Regions from separate parts of the Homo sapiens genome. Here region 1 is linked to region 2. Evidence: promoter capture Hi-C in 16 types of primary human blood cells and fetal thymus (Javierre and others, 2016). All regions are on one chromosome and are shown on one strand. Each heading gives the region's core, a stretch centred on a gene start or on the middle of the fragment in contact. The rest is flanking DNA. Distances are from core to core; before and after follow the strand shown. Region 1 overlaps ZNF143 (zinc finger protein 143). Region 2 holds the start of TMEM9B (TMEM9 domain family member B).

What was found. Contacts are between HindIII fragments. The CHiCAGO score rates a contact against its expected background, and 5 or more counts as called.
Region 1: a fragment that was not itself captured here is called in contact with the fragment with the promoter of TMEM9B in region 2 in 1 of 17 cell types (total CD8 T cells); the score reaches 5.0 in total CD8 T cells.

What each region holds. Positions count from the first base shown.
Region 1 is chr11:9,499,677-9,504,703 of GRCh38, reverse strand. ZNF143 (zinc finger protein 143) reads right to left here. Exons shown (of 16, transcript NM_003442.6): 11 at 3,434-3,613. Among named protein-coding and RNA genes, the nearest start is that of ZNF143, 41 kb to the right of the region's middle. The HindIII fragment of the contact is 1,751 bases long and covers 1,065-2,815 here.
Region 2 is chr11:8,963,006-8,967,470 of GRCh38, reverse strand. TMEM9B (TMEM9 domain family member B) reads left to right here and starts at 3,029. Exons shown (of 5, transcript NM_020644.3): 1 at 3,029-3,262. The coding sequence starts at 3,158. TMEM9B-AS1 (TMEM9B antisense RNA 1) reads right to left here and starts at 2,796. Exons shown (of 5, transcript NR_073431.1): 1 at 2,323-2,796; 2 at 1,427-1,567; 3 at 815-930. RefSeq lists silencers at 2,836-3,335, 3,376-3,565. The HindIII fragment of the contact is 10,613 bases long and covers 1-4,465 here.

The DNA of each region.
Region 1 (5,027 bases), core at 691-3,190, 540 kb before region 2:
GACGCTGTCTCAAAAAAAAAAAAAAAAAAAGAAAAAAGAAAAAAATGTCTTTTAATTTTGAATTAACACAAGTTTACTCTTAATACCAGTAATAAAACAATATATTAAAATTTTTCTTATAAAACTAATGCATATCCTGCCTTACGCTCACATTTGCCTTTCCATTCTCACCCACCAAAAATACATCCACAAAATGGAGCATTAAAATTAAAAGCTTCTATACTGCAAATATCATTAAGAGAATTAAAAAACCAGCCACAGAATGGAAGAAAATATCTGTAACTAATATATCTAATAAGAGACTTGGATTCAAGTCTCTCGAATTAAAGTTATACAACTCAGTAATAAAGACACAACCCAATTTTAAAAACGGGCAAAGGATTTGAATAGACATTTCTCCAAAGAAGATATACACATGGCTAATAAATACATAAAAAGATGCTTTGGCCAGGTGTGGTGGCTCAAACCTGTAATCCCAGCAGTTTGGGAGGCTGAGGTGGGAGGATCACAAGGTCAGGAGTTTGAGACTAGCCTGGCCAACATGGTGAAAACCTATCTCTATTAAAAATACAAAAATTAGCTGGGTGTGGTGGCAGGTGTCTGTAATCCCAGCTACTTGTGGGGGCTGAGGCAGAAGAATTGCTTGAACGTGGGAGGTGGAGGGTGCAGCAGGCCAAGATTGCGCCACTGCACTCCAGCCTGAGTGACACAGCAAGACTCTGTCTCAAAAAAAAAAAAAAAAAAAAAAAAAAGGCAAGGCGTGGTGGCTCATGCCTGTGATCCCACCACTTTGGGAGGCCAAGGCAGGTGAATCACCTGAGGTCAGAAGTTTGAGACCGGCCTGGCCAACATGGTGAAACCCTGTCTCTACTAAAAATACAAAAATTAGCTGGGTGTGGTGGCACACACCTGTAGTCCCAGCTACTCAGGAGGCTGAAACAGGATCAATCAATCAATCGCTTGAACCCGGCAGGCGGAGGCTGCAGTGAGCTGAGATCACACCACTACACTCCAGCCTGGGCGAGACAGAGCGTGACTCCGTCTCAAAAAAAAAAAAAAAAGCTTCACATCATTAGCCATCAGAAAAATGCAAATCAAAAGTCGGAATGAGATACCAATTCACACCTACTAAGATGGCTATAATAAAAAAAGACAGATAATAACAACTGTTAGCTGGGATAATAACAACTGTTAGCTGGGATGTGGAGAAACTGGAACCCTCATCCATTGCTGATGAGACTGTAAAATGGTGCAGCCACTTGGGAGAACAGTTTGGAAGTTCCTAAAATGTTAAGCATGGAGTTACCATATGACCCAGCAAGTCCACTCCTAAGTACACATCCAAGAGAAATGAAAACATGTCCACATAAAAACTTGTACATGAATGCTCATTGCATATAAGGAATACATATGACATATGTAATCTATTATTATTCTTAATAGCCAGAAGTGAAAACAACTGGTGAATAAACAAAATGTAGTACATCCATATAATGAAATACTATTCAGTTACTGAAAAAAGAAAGAATTTAAAAGTTGCTACAACATGGTTGAACTTCAAAAACATTATGCAGGCTAGGAGCGGTGGCTCATGTCTGTAATCCCAGCACTTTGGGAGGTCGAGGCAGGTGGATCACGAGGTCAGGAGATCGAGACCGTCCTGGCTAACACAGTGAAACCCCGTCTCTACTAAAACATACAAAAAATTAGCCAGGCATGGTGGCAGGCGCCTATAGTCCCAGCTACTTGGGAGGCTGAGGCAGGAGAATGGTGTGAACCCAGGAGGCGGAGCTTGCAGTGAGCCGAGATTGCGCCACTGCACTCCATTATGCAAAGAGAACGAAGTCAGACAAAAACCCCCCACATACTGCATGATTTCATTTATATGAAAATATCCAGAATGGGCAAACCCATAGAAGAGAAAGTAGATTCGTGATTGCTTACACCTGGGGGGCGGGGTGGGGAAAGGACTGCTTCTGAGTATGGAATTTCTTTTAGGGGAAATGAAAATATTCTAAAATTGAATTGTGGTGATGGTTGCACAACCTTGTGAATATACTAAAAAACACTGAAACACATACTTTTTTTTTTTTTTTGAGATGGAGTCTCGCTCTTGCTCAGGCTGGAGTGCAGTGGTGCGATCTCAACTCACTGCAAGCTCTGCCTCCCGGGTTCATGCTGTTCTCCTGCCTCAGCCTCCGGAGTAGCTGGGACTATAGGCACCCGCCACCATGCCCGGCTAATTTTTTGTGTTTTTAGTAGACATGGGGTTTCACCATGTTAGCCAAGGATGGTCTCGATATCCTGACCTCGTGATCCGCTCACTTCGGCCTCCCAAAGTGCTGGGATTACAGGCGTGAGCCACCGCGCCCGGCCCATACACTTTAAATAGATGAATTGTATAGTATGTGAATTATATTTCAATAAAGCAGTTTCCCAAAAAAAAAAAAAAAAAAAAAAAAGAATATGGCCAGGCGCGGTGGCTCACACCTGGATTCCCAGCACTTTGAGAGGCCGAGGCGGGCAGATCACCTGAGGTTGGGAGTTTCAGACTAGCCTGACCAACATGGAGAAACCCCGTCTCTACTAAAAATACAAAATTACCCGGGCATGGTGGCACATGCCTGTAATCCCAGTTACTAGGGAGGCTGAGGTGGGAGAATCGCTTAAACCTGGGAGGCGGAGGTTGCAGTGAGCCGAGATCGCGCCATTGCACTCCAGCCTGGGCAACAACAGCGAAACTCCATCCCAAAAAAAAAAAAAAAAAAAAAAAAAAAAGAATATATCCATAGACCACCCCGCCCCCTCACAAGCTTCACAAAGTCCAGTTTAAGAAGTACCTTAACTTTGACAGCACAACACACAAGGCCTCTGGCTACCTCTCAGAACTCACCTTGTACAAATCTTCTACATGTACTTAATGCTCCTGTCATATGGAACCACTGAGTATCATGCTTTTTCATACCTTTGTGCCTTTCCCCATGACATTTCCCCTGCCAGGAATACCCTTCTCTCTTATGTGGCAAACTTCAGGATTGAGTCTGTATGCCAAATATCTCCCAGAAACCCCTCCCAAAATGCTTCTCCCATTCCTGCAGAAGTGACTGCTCCCCTCTCTGCTCCCACAGCATCTTGTCCATATAATGGGAGACACTGCAGCAACTGTATGTCTACTATCTCTTCCCAAGTAGCCTGCCCTTGACAATGTCTTATCTCTCTATGTTTGATGCCTGGCAGGAGATACTCAATAACTGTTTGTTGAATAAATGAATGTATGACTGTTAAGGTGAAACTTTTTCAAGTTGCTTAATCTCTTTCCACCATGCCAAGTGATAGAAAGGAGGGAAGAGATTAGTTGGAAATGGTTTCTGGAAAAGGCAGGAGTTAAACTGAGCCTTGAAAGATAAAAGACCAAAAGATCAGAGATTGTTACCTGTGTGTATCCTCACATGGTTTTTATAATTTGTTGCACTGGCAAATGCCCTCCCACATCCTGGCTCTGTGCAGTAATAAGGTCTTTCTCCTGTGTGTGTCCTAACGTGCACTTTTCTGATATTTGATGTTGTAAAGGACCGACCGCAGCCTTCGAAGGGACACTTAAAGGGCCTTTCTCCTGCAAATATAAAGGGTAATACATTAAATGGTGCAAAAATATATAGAGGATTAAAATGTCTTATCCTTCAATCCTGCCTAGGATTATGCTCAAGACTCTAGCCTTCTTGTGCTGAGCTTCCCTTTCAGGCATTTTTTTGGGGGGGTTGGGGAAACAGCATCTTCCACTCCAAACTTAAATCTACATAAGAAACTGGGAATGGTATTCAAAACTAATCACTGATTACATAGCTCTCCAAGATGGAATCATCCAGGTAGGCAAAAAATGAGCTGAGAAAAGCAGAGAGAAAAACATAAGAAATATAAAAGAAAAGTACAGTCAGGAATATGAATTAAATTAGAACAAACCCAGAATTCCCTAAAAGCTTGTATCCTACTTGATTTATTCTACAATATCTTGCAGGAAAATAATTTTTGCTCTTTAAAAATATGGTGTTTTGACCAGCCTGGCCAACATGGTGAAACCCTTTCTCTATTAAAAATACAAAAAATTAGCTGGGCATGGTGCCGGGCGCCTGTAATCCCAGCTACTCGAGAGGCTGAGGCGGGAGAATCGCTTGAACTCAAGAGGCGGAGGTTGCAGTGAGCCGAGATTACACCGTTGCACTCCAGCCTCGGCGACAGAGCGAGACTCCATCTCAAGAGAAAAAAAAATGGTGTTTTAACTAATGTTCAACAAGATAATGCCTAATATTAACTGTGTCAGGAAATAGTAGGTGTTCAATACATACTTGTGTTACTGAACCAAAAAAAAAAAAAAGAAAATCTAGTGCCTAGCACATATGTCAAAAATACCTGCTGGACATACTACTACTACCCTCATAATCTAAGCTTATAAAAAGTCTGGCCAGGCACAGCAGCACATGCCTGTAATCCCAGCACTTTGAGAGGCTAAGGCAGGCGGATCACTTGAGCTCAGGAGTTCAAGACCAGCCTGGGCAACATGGCGAAACCCCGTCTCTACAAAAAAAATTCAAAAAATTAGCTGGGTGTAGTGGTGCACAGTGGTAAGTCCCAGCTACTCGGGAGGGTGAGATGGGGGGATCACATGAGCACAAGAAGTCAAGGCTGTAGTGAGCTGTGACTGTGCCACTGCACACCAGCCTGGGCACTGAAGTGAGACACTGTCTCAAAAACAAAAAAATCTGCTTTACCAATTATGTTTCTTTCCTTCATATTTGCTTTATACAATCTTGGAATACGAAAGGCCTTTAAACTGTCAAGCAAGAAGTAGCCTTTGCTTTTGATTCTCATGTACCCTTTTCTAGGATGAGCTCAAATTAGGCAAACAACTTCTGGGGAAGGGGAAAAAATCTCTCTTTATATAGACAGATACAGATATTTATCTATATATAGTAAGTTTGTTAAATTTTTTAAGAGATGAGTCTCACTATGTTGCTCAGGCTGGAATGCAG
Region 2 (4,465 bases), core at 1,780-4,279:
TCCTCTTCCTTTTCTAACCATCCCCCACCAGGGAATTTTTCAGGCCTTACAAAGAAGGGAGAGGACCCAGGCCAGTTGGGAGGGTACACGTGGACCTACATCACTCTTTTTGAGGAAGTGAGTAGGGAAACCTAGTTATAAGGAAGCAAGGAAAATAGAGGGAGAGTGAGTACTAAGGCCAGCGCCGTCTATAAACAGAACAATTCCCGTGTGACCTGAAGGTCTAGGAAGACCCGAGGTGAGAAATCTTCACTCCCCTGCCTACTATGGTGCGCCGGATCCCGCCATTTGCACATCTTTGGGCATCTCAGCATCCCCTCTCATGGTCAGAAAGAAATCAAATGAGGATTCAAGTAGGTGCCTGATACTTTTCTTTTAGACTAACCAGAGGAGCCTCTCCCATTCCCCTTTTCCCTGGTCCCCACAAACATCATATTGTTTTAATCTGTCTCCAGGTATAACAATAATAAGACAAAGTCCTTACCCTCAGAGAGCTCACAATATTTTGGTGGAGGTTTGGGTATAAAGGCAAATGTGAAAACATAATTTTACTATAATGGGGTAAAGTTAAGAAAGAGATCTATGCAAACATAGAAAGGAGTGCACTTAAGTCAGTGAAGGTTTTCTGGCTTAGAAGAACCCTGACCTAAAGGAAAAGTAAGAGTTACCTAGATAAGAGCAGGGCAGAACAAGAGAAACTGATCCCTCCACTTCTATTGAGTCACCTGAAATTATATTCATTTTTTGGCAGACATATACCTCCCCCAAACATTCGGCTCTAGTTGTGCCAGTTCTTCCTTGTCAGCCCTCTTACCTTGGCCTGAGGCTTCATTGTCTCCAGTCAGGCGACTATCTCATAGTCACACTCCACTCACGGCAGCCACATTCTGTATTCCAGAACAGCACTTCCTGACAGCACTATAACATTTTCTAGCAGCCACATTTAAGAGGTCAAAAAACAAGTGAAATATTTTACTAATATATTTTATTTAACCCAACATATCTAAAATATTTAAACCATATTTTTAAATTACTGAAATATTTTACATTTTAAAAATATTGTCTTTGAAATTAAGTGTATATTTTATACAGCACATTTCAATTCAGTCTAGCCACATTTCAAATGCTCAATTGCCACATGTAGCTAGATAGTGGTTATACTATGGAGCTCTAAAATTCCGCCCAGACTGAGTGTGCTTGGTGTTTCTCCATTAAACAGATGAGGCCCATCAGTCTGAGGCACAACTATGTATTTTCTCTAAGTCTCTGTACCCCCAAGGCCTTGAAAACAATTCGGAAGGAAGAGAAGGCCTATGAGGTTTCAGCTACAGCAGGCACTCCCTTTAGATGCCAAGCCTAGAAAACCCTAAACTGATGCCTAACTTGCAGCTGAATCACCTTTCAGCAATCAGATTCAGTGCCTCACCAACACATTTGATCCAGGGAGTCTCCAGTTTGTCCTTTGTCCAGTAGAAGACCCACTACAAAGCCTTGATAATTCATCAAAGTGACAGCACCTTCACTGGGCAGTCTGGTGAGAGGACATCTAGCCCTGCCACCCTGGTTCCTGTTGGGAACAGTATCAGATACGTTGTGTTAGATTCACATGAATCTAAGAATCACATGGGCGAAAAATATTGAGAGCATTCTGTTAAAACATTTCCACAAATTGGGAAAAGACCATCTTTAAAAATCTGTTGGGGCCGGGCGCGGTGGCTCACGCCTATAATCCCAGCAATTTGGGAGGCCGAGGCGGGCGGATCACAAGGTCAGGAGATCGAGACCATCCTGGCTAACACAGTGAGACCCTGTCTGTACTAAAAATACAAAAAAAAAAAAAGAAAAAGAAAAAGAAAAAAAAAATTAGCCGGGCGGCGTGGTGGCGGGCGCCTGTAGTCCCACCTACTAGGGAGGCTGAGGCAGGAGAATGGCGTCAACCCGGGAGGCGGAGGTTGCAGTGAGCCGAGATCGCGCCACTGCACTCCAGCCCGGGGGACAGAACGAGACTCCGTCTCAAAAAAAACAAAAAAATCTGTTTACAGAGGTAAAAACACGGGTATTACATGGAGCATAATTTGAAATCCATTCCCTCATATTCAGCCAAGAACTACAGGCCCAGAGAAGGGAAGTGATTTGCCAAAGGTCATTCAACAAATCCCTAGGGGCTGTGATGATCCGTGTCCTTGCCATTACCTCCCTTGTCTCCACTAACAAAAATATTTCAATGGGAGAATGTGCCGATCTAAGGCACTCCTAAAGTACTTGCTGAGAATGACAGCCCTGGGGAGACAGGTCGGCAGCCCTGAACAGGCACTGCCTTACCCGGGCGTAGTGCCCCAATTCGCCACCTCTTGGAGTCCTAGGCGGAGGATACTACTGGGGCAGTTGTTTCGCCAATTCCACATCTCCCGGAGCCTGGCCTGGCCCAGCCCAGCCCCGTCGCTGTGACCCACTTCCTAGCTGCAGGCTGGACCAAGGGGAGGCACATGGGGAGCTCCACAGGGAGGCCACGCCCACGAGGGCAGCTCACAGAATTAGAAAGCCGACGGGGTGCTGTGGTCAGGAGGCGCGTGGGCGGCAGGTTAGTACTTAAGGTGCAGAGACCACCCCCAACCCTTTGACTGGCGGTGGGCATCCCGGAAAGGCATGGCTCGGCCAATTCCAGCCCCGTTTCCACGCTCAGCACCCGCCCTGCCTGTGCGCGAACGGCTCCGGCCCGCACGGGTCGCCAGAGGCGACTGTGTGACACTCGGAGTTTGCTGGGGTCTCCGTGGGCGGGAGGACTTTCCAGCGCAATGGCGACTCCCTAAGCCCCGCAGCTTCTGCGCCCGGGAAAGATATCCAAGAGATGCAAAGCTCTACTGGGCCCAGGCTGCCACCCCAGAGGCCCCCTTCCGTCCCGGGGCCGGGGCTAGGCCAAGGCGGGCACCAGGACTGCCCAGCCTCCCGGCCCTTCGCACTGGTAACCGGTTCCGGGGCGGATGCTTTTTGCATCTGACCCGGCGCGCCCGGTGACGCCTTCGCGTCCAGACGGAAGTGCGGGCGGAGGATCCCCAGCCGGGTCCCAAGCCTGTGCCTGAGCCTGAGCCTGAGCCTGAGCCCGAGCCGGGAGCCGGTCGCGGGGGCTCCGGGCTGTGGGACCGCTGGGCCCCCAGCGATGGCGACCCTGTGGGGAGGCCTTCTTCGGCTTGGCTCCTTGCTCAGCCTGTCGTGCCTGGCGCTTTCCGTGCTGCTGCTGGCGCAGCTGTCAGACGCCGCCAAGGTGAGTCCCGCCCAGCCTCGCTCCTGACGGAAGCTCCTCCCCTACCACCGGCCTTGCGGAAACTGGGTCTGCCAACCTGCTCCTTGGCCCATTCCTGACAGCCATACGCCTGGCCTCACAGCTCCGGCAGACCCCCGCCGCCACCAGCCCCGCCCCTCCCGACTGCCCGGCGGCACTCTCGCCCTCAGCCCCGACAGCCTGGCAGGCAGCGCCCCACGGTCGTCCCCAGCCCCGACAGTGCCCACAGTCCGGACAGCAGCCCCCCACCGCCTTAACATTTCCCTTCCCAGCCCCGGCTGCACGCATCTTACACTTGACAACCTTTTCACCTCCGAGAGCCTTTAACTTTCCACCCTAAGCTCTTGACAGCCCACCTGCGCCCTCCGCCAGCCTCACAGGCCCCGCATGCCCCAAGCCAGAATGATAGGAAGCCCCCATCTGACAGAGCCTTCCCTGTCAAGGGCCGACTCAGCTCAGCTCACCCCTGAACACTTCCCTTCCTGTGGTGGGAACTTGCCCCTCCTGGCCTACTTCCCTCCCAATAGGGCCTACGGAGCATCTCTCACCTGCTTCATATTCTCACCTAACTCCCTCCACGAGTCCCTTGGTGCCTTTCTTGCTTTCTCTCTTCCTGATAATTTAGTGGGTAAGGGAAGAACCAAACTGCAAGAGAGGTGAGGTTGTGGCCTCCCTGGTTCGATTTCTTGACCTTCTAGTTCCCTCATACTGTTCTCTGGTGCCCCAGCTCTCCAGACCTGCCCTAGCTCCATGCATACCTGTGCTTCCTCTTTGATGAGCTAGCTCATCATTGGGGGAGAACAGAAGGGATTCACATTAGTATGATGGGAAAACAGAATGACATTGCGTTTTTAAAAATAAGAGCTTTAATTTATAATATCTTTAAATGTAGGAGTGGGGAAAGGTTACAGGCAGGCAAATGTTTTTGATTCAGAGATTCTTTTTGAAACCATCTCTACCTCCTACCAGAAACAGGGACAGCAGCACGTCTCCTGACTTTGAAAACATTGCTGGCACCCTCTGCATATCTTGCCTCATAACTTTATGTATTGTGATCATGTATTTATTTTTCAGTCTCCTTTACTAGGGTGTGTCCTGGTTATGGGCAGAAACCATGTCTTATGCTTATCTGAATCCACCTTATTGAGCACAAGATCTAACACAGAGCAAATGCTCACTAAGTGG